Regions from separate parts of the Homo sapiens genome. Here all the other regions are linked to region 3. The links are contacts of gene promoters, found by promoter capture Hi-C in blood cells and fetal thymus (Javierre and others, 2016). All regions are on one chromosome and are shown on one strand. Each heading gives the region's core, a stretch centred on a gene start or on the middle of the fragment in contact. The rest is flanking DNA. Distances are from core to core; before and after follow the strand shown.

Evidence for each region. Contacts are between HindIII fragments. The CHiCAGO score rates a contact against its expected background, and 5 or more counts as called.
Region 1: a contact is called between a fragment that was not itself captured here and the fragment with the promoter of ADGB in region 3, in 1 of 17 cell types (endothelial precursors). The highest score is 5.3, in endothelial precursors.
Region 2: a contact is called between a fragment that was not itself captured here and the fragment with the promoter of ADGB in region 3, in 1 of 17 cell types (endothelial precursors). The highest score is 5.4, in endothelial precursors.

Annotation. Positions count from the first base shown.
Region 1 is chr6:146,005,963-146,009,595 of GRCh38, reverse strand. No RefSeq gene overlaps it. Among named protein-coding and RNA genes, the nearest start is that of GRM1, 21 kb to the left of the region's middle. The HindIII fragment of the contact is 3,896 bases long and covers 1-3,493 here.
Region 2 is chr6:146,033,837-146,037,394 of GRCh38, reverse strand. All of the region lies in intron 1 of GRM1 (glutamate metabotropic receptor 1), which reads right to left. Among named protein-coding and RNA genes, the nearest start is that of GRM1, 6.6 kb to the right of the region's middle. The HindIII fragment of the contact is 2,309 bases long and covers 816-3,124 here.
Region 3 is chr6:146,596,639-146,600,377 of GRCh38, reverse strand. ADGB (androglobin) reads right to left here and starts at 1,406. Exons shown (of 36, transcript NM_024694.4): 1 at 1,264-1,406. The coding sequence starts at 1,337. ADGB-DT (ADGB divergent transcript) reads left to right here and starts at 1,447. Exons shown (of 3, transcript NR_125860.1): 1 at 1,447-1,545; 2 at 2,207-2,308. RefSeq lists a silencer at 1,311-1,605. The HindIII fragment of the contact is 3,644 bases long and covers 1-3,545 here.

The sequences.
Region 1 (3,633 bases), core at 296-2,795, 590 kb after region 3:
AACACACACTTAGAAAAGATCTGAGAACACTCTAGGCTTTCACCACTGACTCAGGTCTAGATTTAGCATAAGCAGGAAGTGAAGGCTAAGGCAGAGTTGTAAACACCCTGGCTGAGTTGGGAGCGTCCCAAAGGAGCAAAAGCTGCAAAGCATAGGAGGATTTCTTTATTTTCTTTTTTACATTTTCTTCCTTCTTTCCTTCTTTTGTTGTCTTTTTTGTTATTGTTGTTCCATTTTGTTTTTGGAGCCAGGCATTTAAGGAAAACTCTGTCAAAACACCAGCTGAATAGAAGCTAAAGAAACAGATTGGAGACTACACACAACAAAGAATACAGAAGTCGCAAAATAACTTAGAAAAGTGACTAAACAAGCAACCAACTAAAACCCACAAAAAACTGCAAAACCAAACCCTGACAAAGGGGAGAATCTGATTTCCAGAGGTACCACATTATATATTTAAAATGTCCAGTTTGCAACAAAAAATACAAAGTATGAAAAAAAAAGAAATATGCCCTAATCACAGAAATAATTAACAGAAACTGACCCTGTGAAGCAAAAACATTGGACTTACTAGAAAAAAACTTTAAATCAGCTCTCTTAAATATATTTAAAGAGCTAAAGAAAACCATTGAAAAAGAGTGTAACGAAACAAAAATAACGATGTCTCAGCAAGTAGAGAATATTAACAAAGAGATAAAAATTATAAAAGAAAGGTAGCAAAAGTATAAAAAATGGAGCTCAAAAGTATTATAACTGAAATGAAAAATCCACAAGTGTTTGCATAGCAGATTTGAACAGGCAGAAGAAAGAATCAGCATACTTGAGGATAGGTCGATTGAAATGATTTAGTCCAAGGTGCACAAAAAAGAAATAAATAGAGCCTCAAACAACTATGGGACAACATCAAGTGTACAATAATACAAATAATAGGAGTTCCAGAAGGAGAAAAGAAAGAGACAGAAAGAATATTTAAAGAAATAATGGTCACAAACTTCCCAATGTTGATAAAGACACAAATGCAGATATCCAAGAATCTGAACAAACTCAAAACAAGGATAACACAAAGAGTTCCATACCAAAACACATTGCAATTAAACTGTCAGAAGTAAAAGACAGAGACAAAATCTTGAAAGCAGCATGAGAAAAGCAAATTTACAGTTACAAGGAATCCTCAACAACATTAGCAGTCAGTTTCTCAGCAGAAACAATAAAGGCCAGAAAACAGGAATGACAGAGTTAAAATGCTGAAAGAAAATACTGTCATTTAAGTATTGTATATTCAGCAAAACCGTTTTTCAGAAATGAAGACAAAATTAAGATATTATTTGATGAACATAAGCTATGGGAGTTTGTCACCAGTAGCACTGCCCTATAATAAATGCTACAAAGGAGTTCTATTCTTCAGATGGAAATGAAATGACTCTAGACAGTAACTTGAAGCCATACAAAGAATTAATGTTACTGGTCAAGATAACCACATAGGTAAACTCAAAGATTAGTATTATTGTATTTTTGGTTTGGAACTCTTCTTTCTTTTCCTATATAATTTAATGCCACAGGTATAAAACAATAATTACAAATCCATGTCAATGCACACACACTGCATAATGTATTTTGTGAAAACAACACAAAGGGGGTGGTAGAGCTCTAGGGAGCAAAGTTTTTGTATACTATTGAAGATAAGGTGGTGTTAATTCATAATATATTTTTATTAGTTTAAGAGATTAATATTCCATGTGAATATAGATACAAAAATTTTCAAAAATATTGGCAAACTGAATACAGCAGCCCAGTAAAAGGATTATATGCCATAAGCATGATTCATCCCAGAAATGCAAGTTATTCAATATACAAGAATCACTCAATGTAATATAACACATTAATGAAATTTTTAAAAATTTACCACCTTAATTTATACAGGAAAAGCATTTGGCAAAATTGAACACCCTTTAATAATTAAAATAATTTAATTTAAAAATCAGAGATAAAATAGAACTTCCTCAACCTGATAAAGCACATTTATTTAAAAAAGAAAAAAAAAGCTAATATTATACTCAATAGTGAAAAACATAAAGCCTTTTCCCTGAAATCAGGAACAAGACATGGATGCTCACTTTTACCAATGCTATTCAATAATGCACTGAACATTTTAGCCAAAGACTACTAGACAAGAAAAAAGAAATAAAATCATTCAAATTGGGAAAAAAGAAGTAAAACTATTCCTTTGCATAGAAAAAATGGATATTTACAAAATACATACATAAAAAAATTCTAAAGAATCCACACAAAAAATTACGAGAGGTAATAAACAAATTTAGCAAAGTCGAAGGATACAAGATCAACACACAAAAATTAGTTGCATTTTTAAAAATGTTTTATTTTCAAGTGTAGGTATATAGTAGGTACATATATTTATGGGGTACATGAAATGTTTTAATACAGGCATGCAATGCATAATAATCACATCATGGAGAATGGGGTATCCATCTCCTCAACCATTTATCCTTTTTGTAATAAACAACCCAATCGTACTCATTTAGTTATTTTAAAGTGTAGTTATTATTTACTATAGTCACCCTGTTGTGCTATCAAATAGTAGGTCTTACCCATTCTTACTAGCTATTTTTTGGTACGCATTAACAATTTCCACCTCCTATCCACCCCCAATACCCTTCCCAGTTTCTGATAATCATTCTTCTACTGTCTGTGTCCATGAGTTCAATTGTTTTAACTTTTAGATCCTACAAATAAGTGAGAATACGTGATGTTTCTTCCTGCCTTTCTTATTTCATTTAACATAATGACCTCCAGTTCCATCTATGTTGTTGCAAATGACAGGATCACATTCTTTTTATGGCTGAATAGTACTCCATTGTGTATATGTACCACATTTTATTTATCTATTCATCTGTTGATGAACACTTGGATTGCTTCCAAATCTTGGATATTGTGGACAGTGCAGCAACAAACATAGGAGTGCAGATATCTCTTTGAATATACTGATTTCCTTTCTTTAGAGTATATACCCAGCAATAGGAAGATTGCTGGATCATGTGGTAGTGATATTTTTAGTGTTTTTGAGGAATCTTCAAACTATTTTCCATAGTGGTTATACTAATTCACATTCCCACTAACAGTGTATCAGGGTTCCCTTTTCTTCAGAATTTGTTATTGTCTGTCTTTTGGGTATAAGCCATTTTAACTGGGGTAAGATAATATCTCATTGTAGTTTTGACTTGCATTTATCTGATGATCAATGATGTTGAGCCCCTTTTCAAATGCCTGTTTGCCATTTGTTTGTCTGAGAAATGTCTACTCAGATCTTGTGCCCAGTTTTTGGCTGGATAATTATATTTTTCCTATAGAGTTGTTTGAGCTCCTTATACATTCTAGTTATTAATATCTTGTCAGATAAGTAGTTTGCAAATATTTTCTACGATTATGTGGGTTGTCTCCTTCCTTTGTTGACTGTATCCTTTGCTGTGCAGAAGCTTTTTCTTGATGCGAGCCCATTTGTCCTTTTTTGCTTTAGTTGCTTATGCTTGTGGGGTATTACTCAATAAATTTTTTGCCCAGGCCAATGTCTTGCATAGAGAGTTCCTCCAATGTTTTCTTGTAGTCATTTCGTAGCCT
Region 2 (3,558 bases), core at 721-3,220, 560 kb after region 3:
ATTTTGTTTTATTTTTCTGGGCTTTTGTTTTCTCATTTGTAACAAGAAAGTTTCCTAAAGTCTATAGTAGATGCTACACCTTTATCTTAATCATGAATTTCATTTTAATCTTATATTACTAGGTTTAGGGTCGAAAATCTGTATCCAATTAACTGGCTTCTTGGACTTGCTTAATATTCATCAGCTGAGAAGAAGTCATCGCTTTGGTGGCAGTTTAAGAAAAACAACTGAAATGTATTTATGGGTACCATCTTCTTGTTCTTTGAAAAGCTGCTGTGAGGAATATAACATGGTAGTGATTATAATTCCCATTTTACAAATGAAACTGAGATGTGCATGCATACAGTATTTCCCATATGTTTTGTGCATTTTTCAAAACAGTAATTAAACATTTTCTTTTTAACCCATGAGCCTATAACTGTCTATATATTTACATGTCTCTTCCAACAAATATTAGTAGTAATAATAGTTATTATTATTGATTTTTATTACTTTATGTGTTACTAGCACCAAGAAAAATATGTGATGCATAATAGTCACGTGTTTATTTATAAATGTCTTTATTAGAAGGCAAATTAGTTACTAGGTAATCAAAGAATTTCTGCCTATCAAAATCCTGTGCTTCTACTACAAATTAAGGCTTTTACCTGGATATTTAGATAATTGCCTTGAATATTTAATTTGTTGGCTATGAAATAAATAAAATAGATAATCCTAAAATTGATAATTGGAGATTTCTGAGAAGCAATTCTCTTCATAAAAACATTAATGTTCTATTTGGTACTACAATGCCTTAAGTTTAAGAGAGTAAAGCTTTCTGGAATACAGAAGGTAATTAAAATTATAATTTCTCATGTAAGTTAAGATTTTAAATGTTGTAGACATTCATAGAGAACAATTAAACAGGAAAAAGTAGCAAATATTTCTATATAATTTTAGAATCTAATGATAACTCTCTGTTGCATAAGACAGTGACATTTTGACAAGGCTTTATGCCTTGTCTTGACTCTGGTTTTCAACTACAGCTTCTCTGAAAATTGACAACTTTCTCCTACTGACATGCTGTTTCCAACATATATCAGAACAGCATGTGCCATGAGTTTTTTTAGTGGTTGTAGGTGTTCACCAAACTATTCTTTTCTGGATGTGGTTCCCCAGCCCTCTGTGTTCTTAAAAAAGTGTATGCCGAAAACACGACTTTTGATAAGTCTCTTTGTGAACCCATCACTCCAGTCACTGCCCAGTTACTGAAAATCCACAAAGCAGTTATTGTATATTAGCTCCCTATATCATAAGGGCAAAAATTTTAATACTTGTAGAAGGATGGCTACTGCCAAGCCACACGGTAGAAACATAAAATGGAAGCTGCCATCACCACCTACCCTATGAAGGACAGCTTCTTATAAAATTTGCAGCAAGATAAACGTAGTCACAGGGTGATTGTGTGGCAAAGGAATCACAAAGAGTTCAAGTTTACTCAAAATAATGAAAGTGTCATTTTTTTCGTCTTTGGATTTCACTCTAATTCTATGCACATAATAGCTGTTTGCTAAATACTGATTAATGACTTTAAAAATGAGTTTAATAAATCCAGCCAAGATATAAAAGAAAAAATAAAGATAAAAATTTTTAAGTATGGCAATTTGTGGCCATTTTGAGTAATAATAAATGGCCTTATATTTTTTTAACAGGCTCCAAGATTACCACCATATTCCAGCGCAAGGTAAAAATTTATGTTCACGATAACTTGGTATATTCAAGGAAAATGTCCATTAAATTGAGCACTGTCTTTAAAAGAAGTTAGGGGACCTTACAGTAGTGTTTGCAAAGATCACCTCATAAAATGTTTTAAATGTAAATGTTGGTGTTTAAAGAGACCAACTCTCAAGTATAAAGTAGACAGCTAGAGAATCAAGGTTATGGATAAACAAGGTTTTACTTGGATATGAACACTTGTTAAAAAATTACAAATAAAGTATCTCGTAACAATATCTGGCTTTTCTTTCGTCCACTCACCAACTTTTGCCAATAATATATGTTCTCTTGGCCAAAGTTCACATGTCTAACTGTGCTTGGATGTATCTTTCTTGAAACCAAAACTCTTTGTCACATGCTTCAAGATTCTCCATTACTTGTCCTTCATGTCTATAAAGACTGATGTAATCACAGAATATTAGGACTTACTTCTGTTTTTATTATTAGTTCTTACCCCAGACTCTTTCCTCCAGATAAGCAAATCTGTTTTTTTCACACCATTACAGTACTTTCAATACTGTCTCTTTTACAAATGCTATGTTTCCAAACAAAACTCTAACCAAAATTCCCTTTTCTCCAGGTTTTCTCTAGATAATTGCACCACTAATACATTCTTTCAGTTCCCTACAATTGAATAAACTCATGTTTATAAATGTCTATACTGTGATTGCTTTTACTTACTTTACATGTATTTAAACTGCACTCCCCTTAAAGTAAAAACTACTTAGTAACCGAAATTAAGTCTTCAAAATTGTTATTTAAAGTTTTTATGCAGTAAATCTTTACTTAAAGTCATCTGTTGTGATGACTTTTCATTTAAACTACATATAGCCATTTATACATTTGCAAGGTAGTATAGTAAGAGGAGGAAAAGCACTGTATAGAAGAAATTCATAATAGGCTGAGTGAACACCAGAATTAGCCAGGTAGTTTGCTCGTGAAAGGGTTTGAGACTTTACTTTCGACCCTTATCTTATTCAGGTTTTAACGTATATGGTTAAATCCTGGAGACACAAAGCTGGAATACTAAGATAAATTAAACAATCAAAATCCCAGAACTTACTGATGTTAGAAAGGCAGATTGAAGCTAATAATTTTACATTTAAAGGGAAAAAATTCAAGTCCTCCTCTTGAATCTAATGGTAACAGTAACAAAATTAATAACTGTTCAAGCATAAAAGGAAGGAGATATGGATTAATAGCAGCACTTCTGAAAAGACCTTGGGATGTTAATTGATGTAAGATCTACTCTAGTCAGCTATGATGGTAAGGGAAGTAAAAAATGAAATGCATGAGTGAAGGAACTGGAGAGCTACACTACAAAAGAGAGATTATTCATTGATGATAAATGTCACATGGAAAAGAAGCTTGAATGTTTTGGATGACTCCTAGTCTTCAATGAAGGATTGGTGGAAACTTCAAGAAATCTGTTTTAGGTCATTACATAGAAGAACTGACTAAAAGTCAGGTGAAATTCTGCTCTCAATTTAACTCCGATATACTCCTACTCTAATTAGAAACCCTAATCACAATTAGAAAGCTTTGAGCGTGGGCAAGCACGTAATGTGATGTTCTAAGCATCTTTTATTAGTTGGCCTGAATAACCTTTCAAAACACTCCTATTTCTTACTATATGATAAAATGAGCAATGTATTAAGATAATTTCCTTTGAAGTAGGTTGCAATCAAGACAAGAAAGATATATAGAAAGTTACTGGTACATAGATAGGAAATATGATATTTAGTAGATATAAAATTATTACAGGTAATTGCATTAATCAAAGTATGTATTTATGACTTAGGA
Region 3 (3,739 bases), core at 157-2,656:
GAAGTAATACAGGCCTGATTCTGAAGGGCGTCCTCGGCCTTGGACCTAGAGGAATGGAAGCCATTAGACAACGCTGAAAAGACCTGACTTTGGTACACAGAAGTAAAGCAATCCTATTAAAATTACATATGTAATATTTATATAAAATTATATATGTAATATTACTTATATATGTAATATCTAAAATTTAAGCTAGTAAAAGGAATGGATTATCTGCCGGGTAACTGGAAACCTGCTTATGAGAGAGGTTAGAACTAAGGGACTAGAGATTCACAGACATGGGAATGAGTCTGGGAGAAGAATTCACAAAGAAAAAGAGTTTAAATCCTAGGGATCAGTGAATCATAGGGATCAGTCCAATGTGGAATTCTTCAGCCAGGGAAGGAAATGGAGAAACAGGCATCAAGGATGTAAGAATTCAATTTGAAATGATTGATTGCATCGCCCTCCCCATCAGGCAGAGCATGAAGAACATGAATGATCCCACTGAAGCAGGGCGGGCAGCTGGGATTCTCTCACAGTGGGAATGAACATTAGAAATGGTGTAAGTTCAAACAGCCCCAATCCTATGCTGTGGATAACTGGATATCCCTAGGGAAACAGACCACAGAAAATAATAATCATGGGGAAGTACATCCTAAGACACAACACCTAACACCAGCCCAGGACAAAGGCACCATAAAAATTCCATGAGCGAGGGTCTGTTTACTTTCTCAGAGTAAATGTTAGTAACATGAACTATACATTTATAATGTTTTAAGGTTTAGAAGCCACTTTACGTCTGACTATATCTGATTAAAGATCGTAGTCGTTGGACTGGGCAGATGCAAACTAGAAAATCACCATTAAGGTGAAATGTGTCCATGTCTGTCTGTCACTCGCTGTCTGTATCATTTCCGGGGCCATGAAGATGTGGCTTTAACCAGAAGTATTTGAGATATGCCTCTTTCTTAGGAAAGCTATGGCCTTTCTAACTGCCTGAGAGGGCTATGAAGAAGAGGAGGGGTGGCAGATTCACCCATGGGAGCTGAACACCCAAAGCAAGAAAATCAGGGGCTCTGGGAAAGGAAGTGAGTCAAGACAAGCAAGAGAGAAGGATGAGAGCGAGCACCTCCAGGATCTGGTTTACCAGAGAAGACAAGCTGCGAGGAGGCCACTAAACTTCTGCCCTGGCACAGTTTGCTGCAGGGAGGCAGCCCCAGAACTAGTGGTGAGGTCGAGGGGCTAGGCCAGGGGAGGGACGGACAGGCAGAGGTCCCTTACTCTTTCGATTTATCCGATCCGTGCGCCGAGTTGATACGATGCACCTCTTTCTTTTTGGTTTGTTTGGAGGCCATGGCAGAAGCCGATCTATGTAGGGCTGAGCTCTGAGCAAAGAGCCTGCGGGCGCGCTCGGCTCCGCGTCTGCGTTGCCAGGAGACGGCGTCCCGCGTCCAGCGCCCGGAGAGCGGGGGCGGGGCCCTGGGGGCGGGCTCTGCGGCCTGTGGCTGCAGAGGGACGCAAGAGCATAAACTGAAATCCCACATCCCCGTGGAGGAACTTGGAGTTGGTGTCTGGGGAGAAATCGAGGTTCTGGGGCACGGGTTTGGCATTAGGATTACTGGGCAGCCCTGATTAATTGGAGTTCTGCAGGACCTACACTGCCTGGCTTTGCCCTTCGGAACCATAGACATATATCGACTCTTGAATATCCAACTATTTGAACGTAGATGTTATCCTAGTACCACCCCAGTTATTCTCTTGGCTAAATATAACAAGTACCTTCAATAATTACTAAGGAGACATTACAGACACGCTGAAATTGTCAATGGCTTGAAAACCTGGGGTCCAGAAATTAACACAGTGGGTGTAAGGAAGGCAAAATAATGACACCTTGAGTCGCTGAGGGCTAGGTGATGATATCTGTAATAAAACCAATAAGGTGTCTTGTTGTTCGAATGAAAGAGTGAGTCCAAGTCATGGGCTCAGGTGGTCCTTTGCAGACTTTCCAGAAAAGGTCCAGGGGCCAGATGACACAGACAGAACCAAGTAAAATGAAACTTATTAGGGCGCAGGCTTAAGGCTCAGTCATCAGTGGTGATTTGTTAGTTATCTTGCCTTGGGCTAGTTTTTCCCTTTGAGTCTCAGTTTACTCACTTATAAATAGGAGATGCCTATTACTCACTTATAAATAGGAGTTATACCTAACTCACAGTTCTGTTTTGAGGATAAGATGCAAAGCGCAGCAAATAGGAGCCACTCTTTCAGAGATGACAGACCACCTGGTTTCGAGGAGCAGCAGACAGCGTGAATGAATGAAGTTGGCCAGGTAAATACAGAGTAGTGGATACTATGCTTAACTGAGACATGCTTAGACTGCAAGAGCTTGCAAATTTATCAAAACAAAACAAAATATTGTGTTGGTTCAATATAACCTCACTTCAGAGATATCTGACACACAGCCCTTAGGCCTAGGACCACTACTACTGGTTGGTGTCTTTCATGAGCCTAGAAATAGTTAAGTATCTTTAAATAAAAGAAATCCCCTCCACTCATGGGACTGGGCACATGCTCACAGTTCCACCTGTGCAGGCAAGAGGCAGCTTCCTGCAGAGAAAATCTTTCAACTTCTCTGACAAATGAATGCTCAGGGCTCTCCACTCAGCATAGCCTATGGTTTGTCAGACTATCCCAATCTTATTACTATTGGATTACTACTGGGGGTTACCTAGATGACAGACAGCCCCTTCGTTGTATTTCTATATGCAAAATAAATAAATTCCAAGTCAGCAGTGTTAATATTATGACTACAAGACTGCCCTGCAAACATCTCCTATATATGTAAAGACAATGAACACATCATGAAGATTCTGCTTTGTTTATACCATAATTCAAATTTCCAGAGAACTCTCTTGAATGAAAGTAGAGGACTAAATGGTGAGAAAAATTATTTACTACCAAATTTTGTCAGAGTAATCAAATTTATAGCTATAAGTATATACAAAGACTCTTGGCTGAAAACAGCACAACTTTAAGCAGCCAACCCCACAGAGAGGTGAGTTTCTTCTTGAACAAGGGCTATCCTGCAGCCATTGTTAATGGCTGCAAGATGCCAAAAGAATTAGGGAAGATAAGCCTTAGAAATCAAAAGATCTACATCCCACCGGTATTTTATGGACAAATAACTCCAGGCGAAGACAAGCAAAATGTCTTGCCAAAAGTTGCTGGGTTATTTATTGATGGAATTTGGACTAAACACATTAAAGTCAGCATTGCCAGTTTAAGCCAAACATATCACTACTCCACTCAGAGCTTGCTTTTTAAACATCTATTAAATTAGGATAAAGTAAGGGGGTTGTCACCAGAATGGAATAAGATAATCATAAAAGATGTGACGAGTATAAGTTGCCTATTAATTCCTACGCCAGTGTTCTTTCTCCTTTATTATATTAAGAGTGCAACATGCATAAATGGAATTTCTCTTCTTTCTGGAGCTAAGGTTCTGGTCAGGCTGTAATTATAAGAGCAAATCTGTTCCTCTCTAAGATAGTTCTAGCTACAAAGCTTAACATGATATTTATTGTGGCAGTGCAAAAAAGACAATAGGTCCTACTGCTGTTTTTATTTTTCTTATAACTGTTGTCAATGTCACTTTGGAATAATAATAATAATAGCTGTGATTTATTGAGTACCTACTACATGCAAGGTTTAGGGAAGGGTGCTAACTCCTTTAGAGATAAACTTGAATTTAAATCCTGAC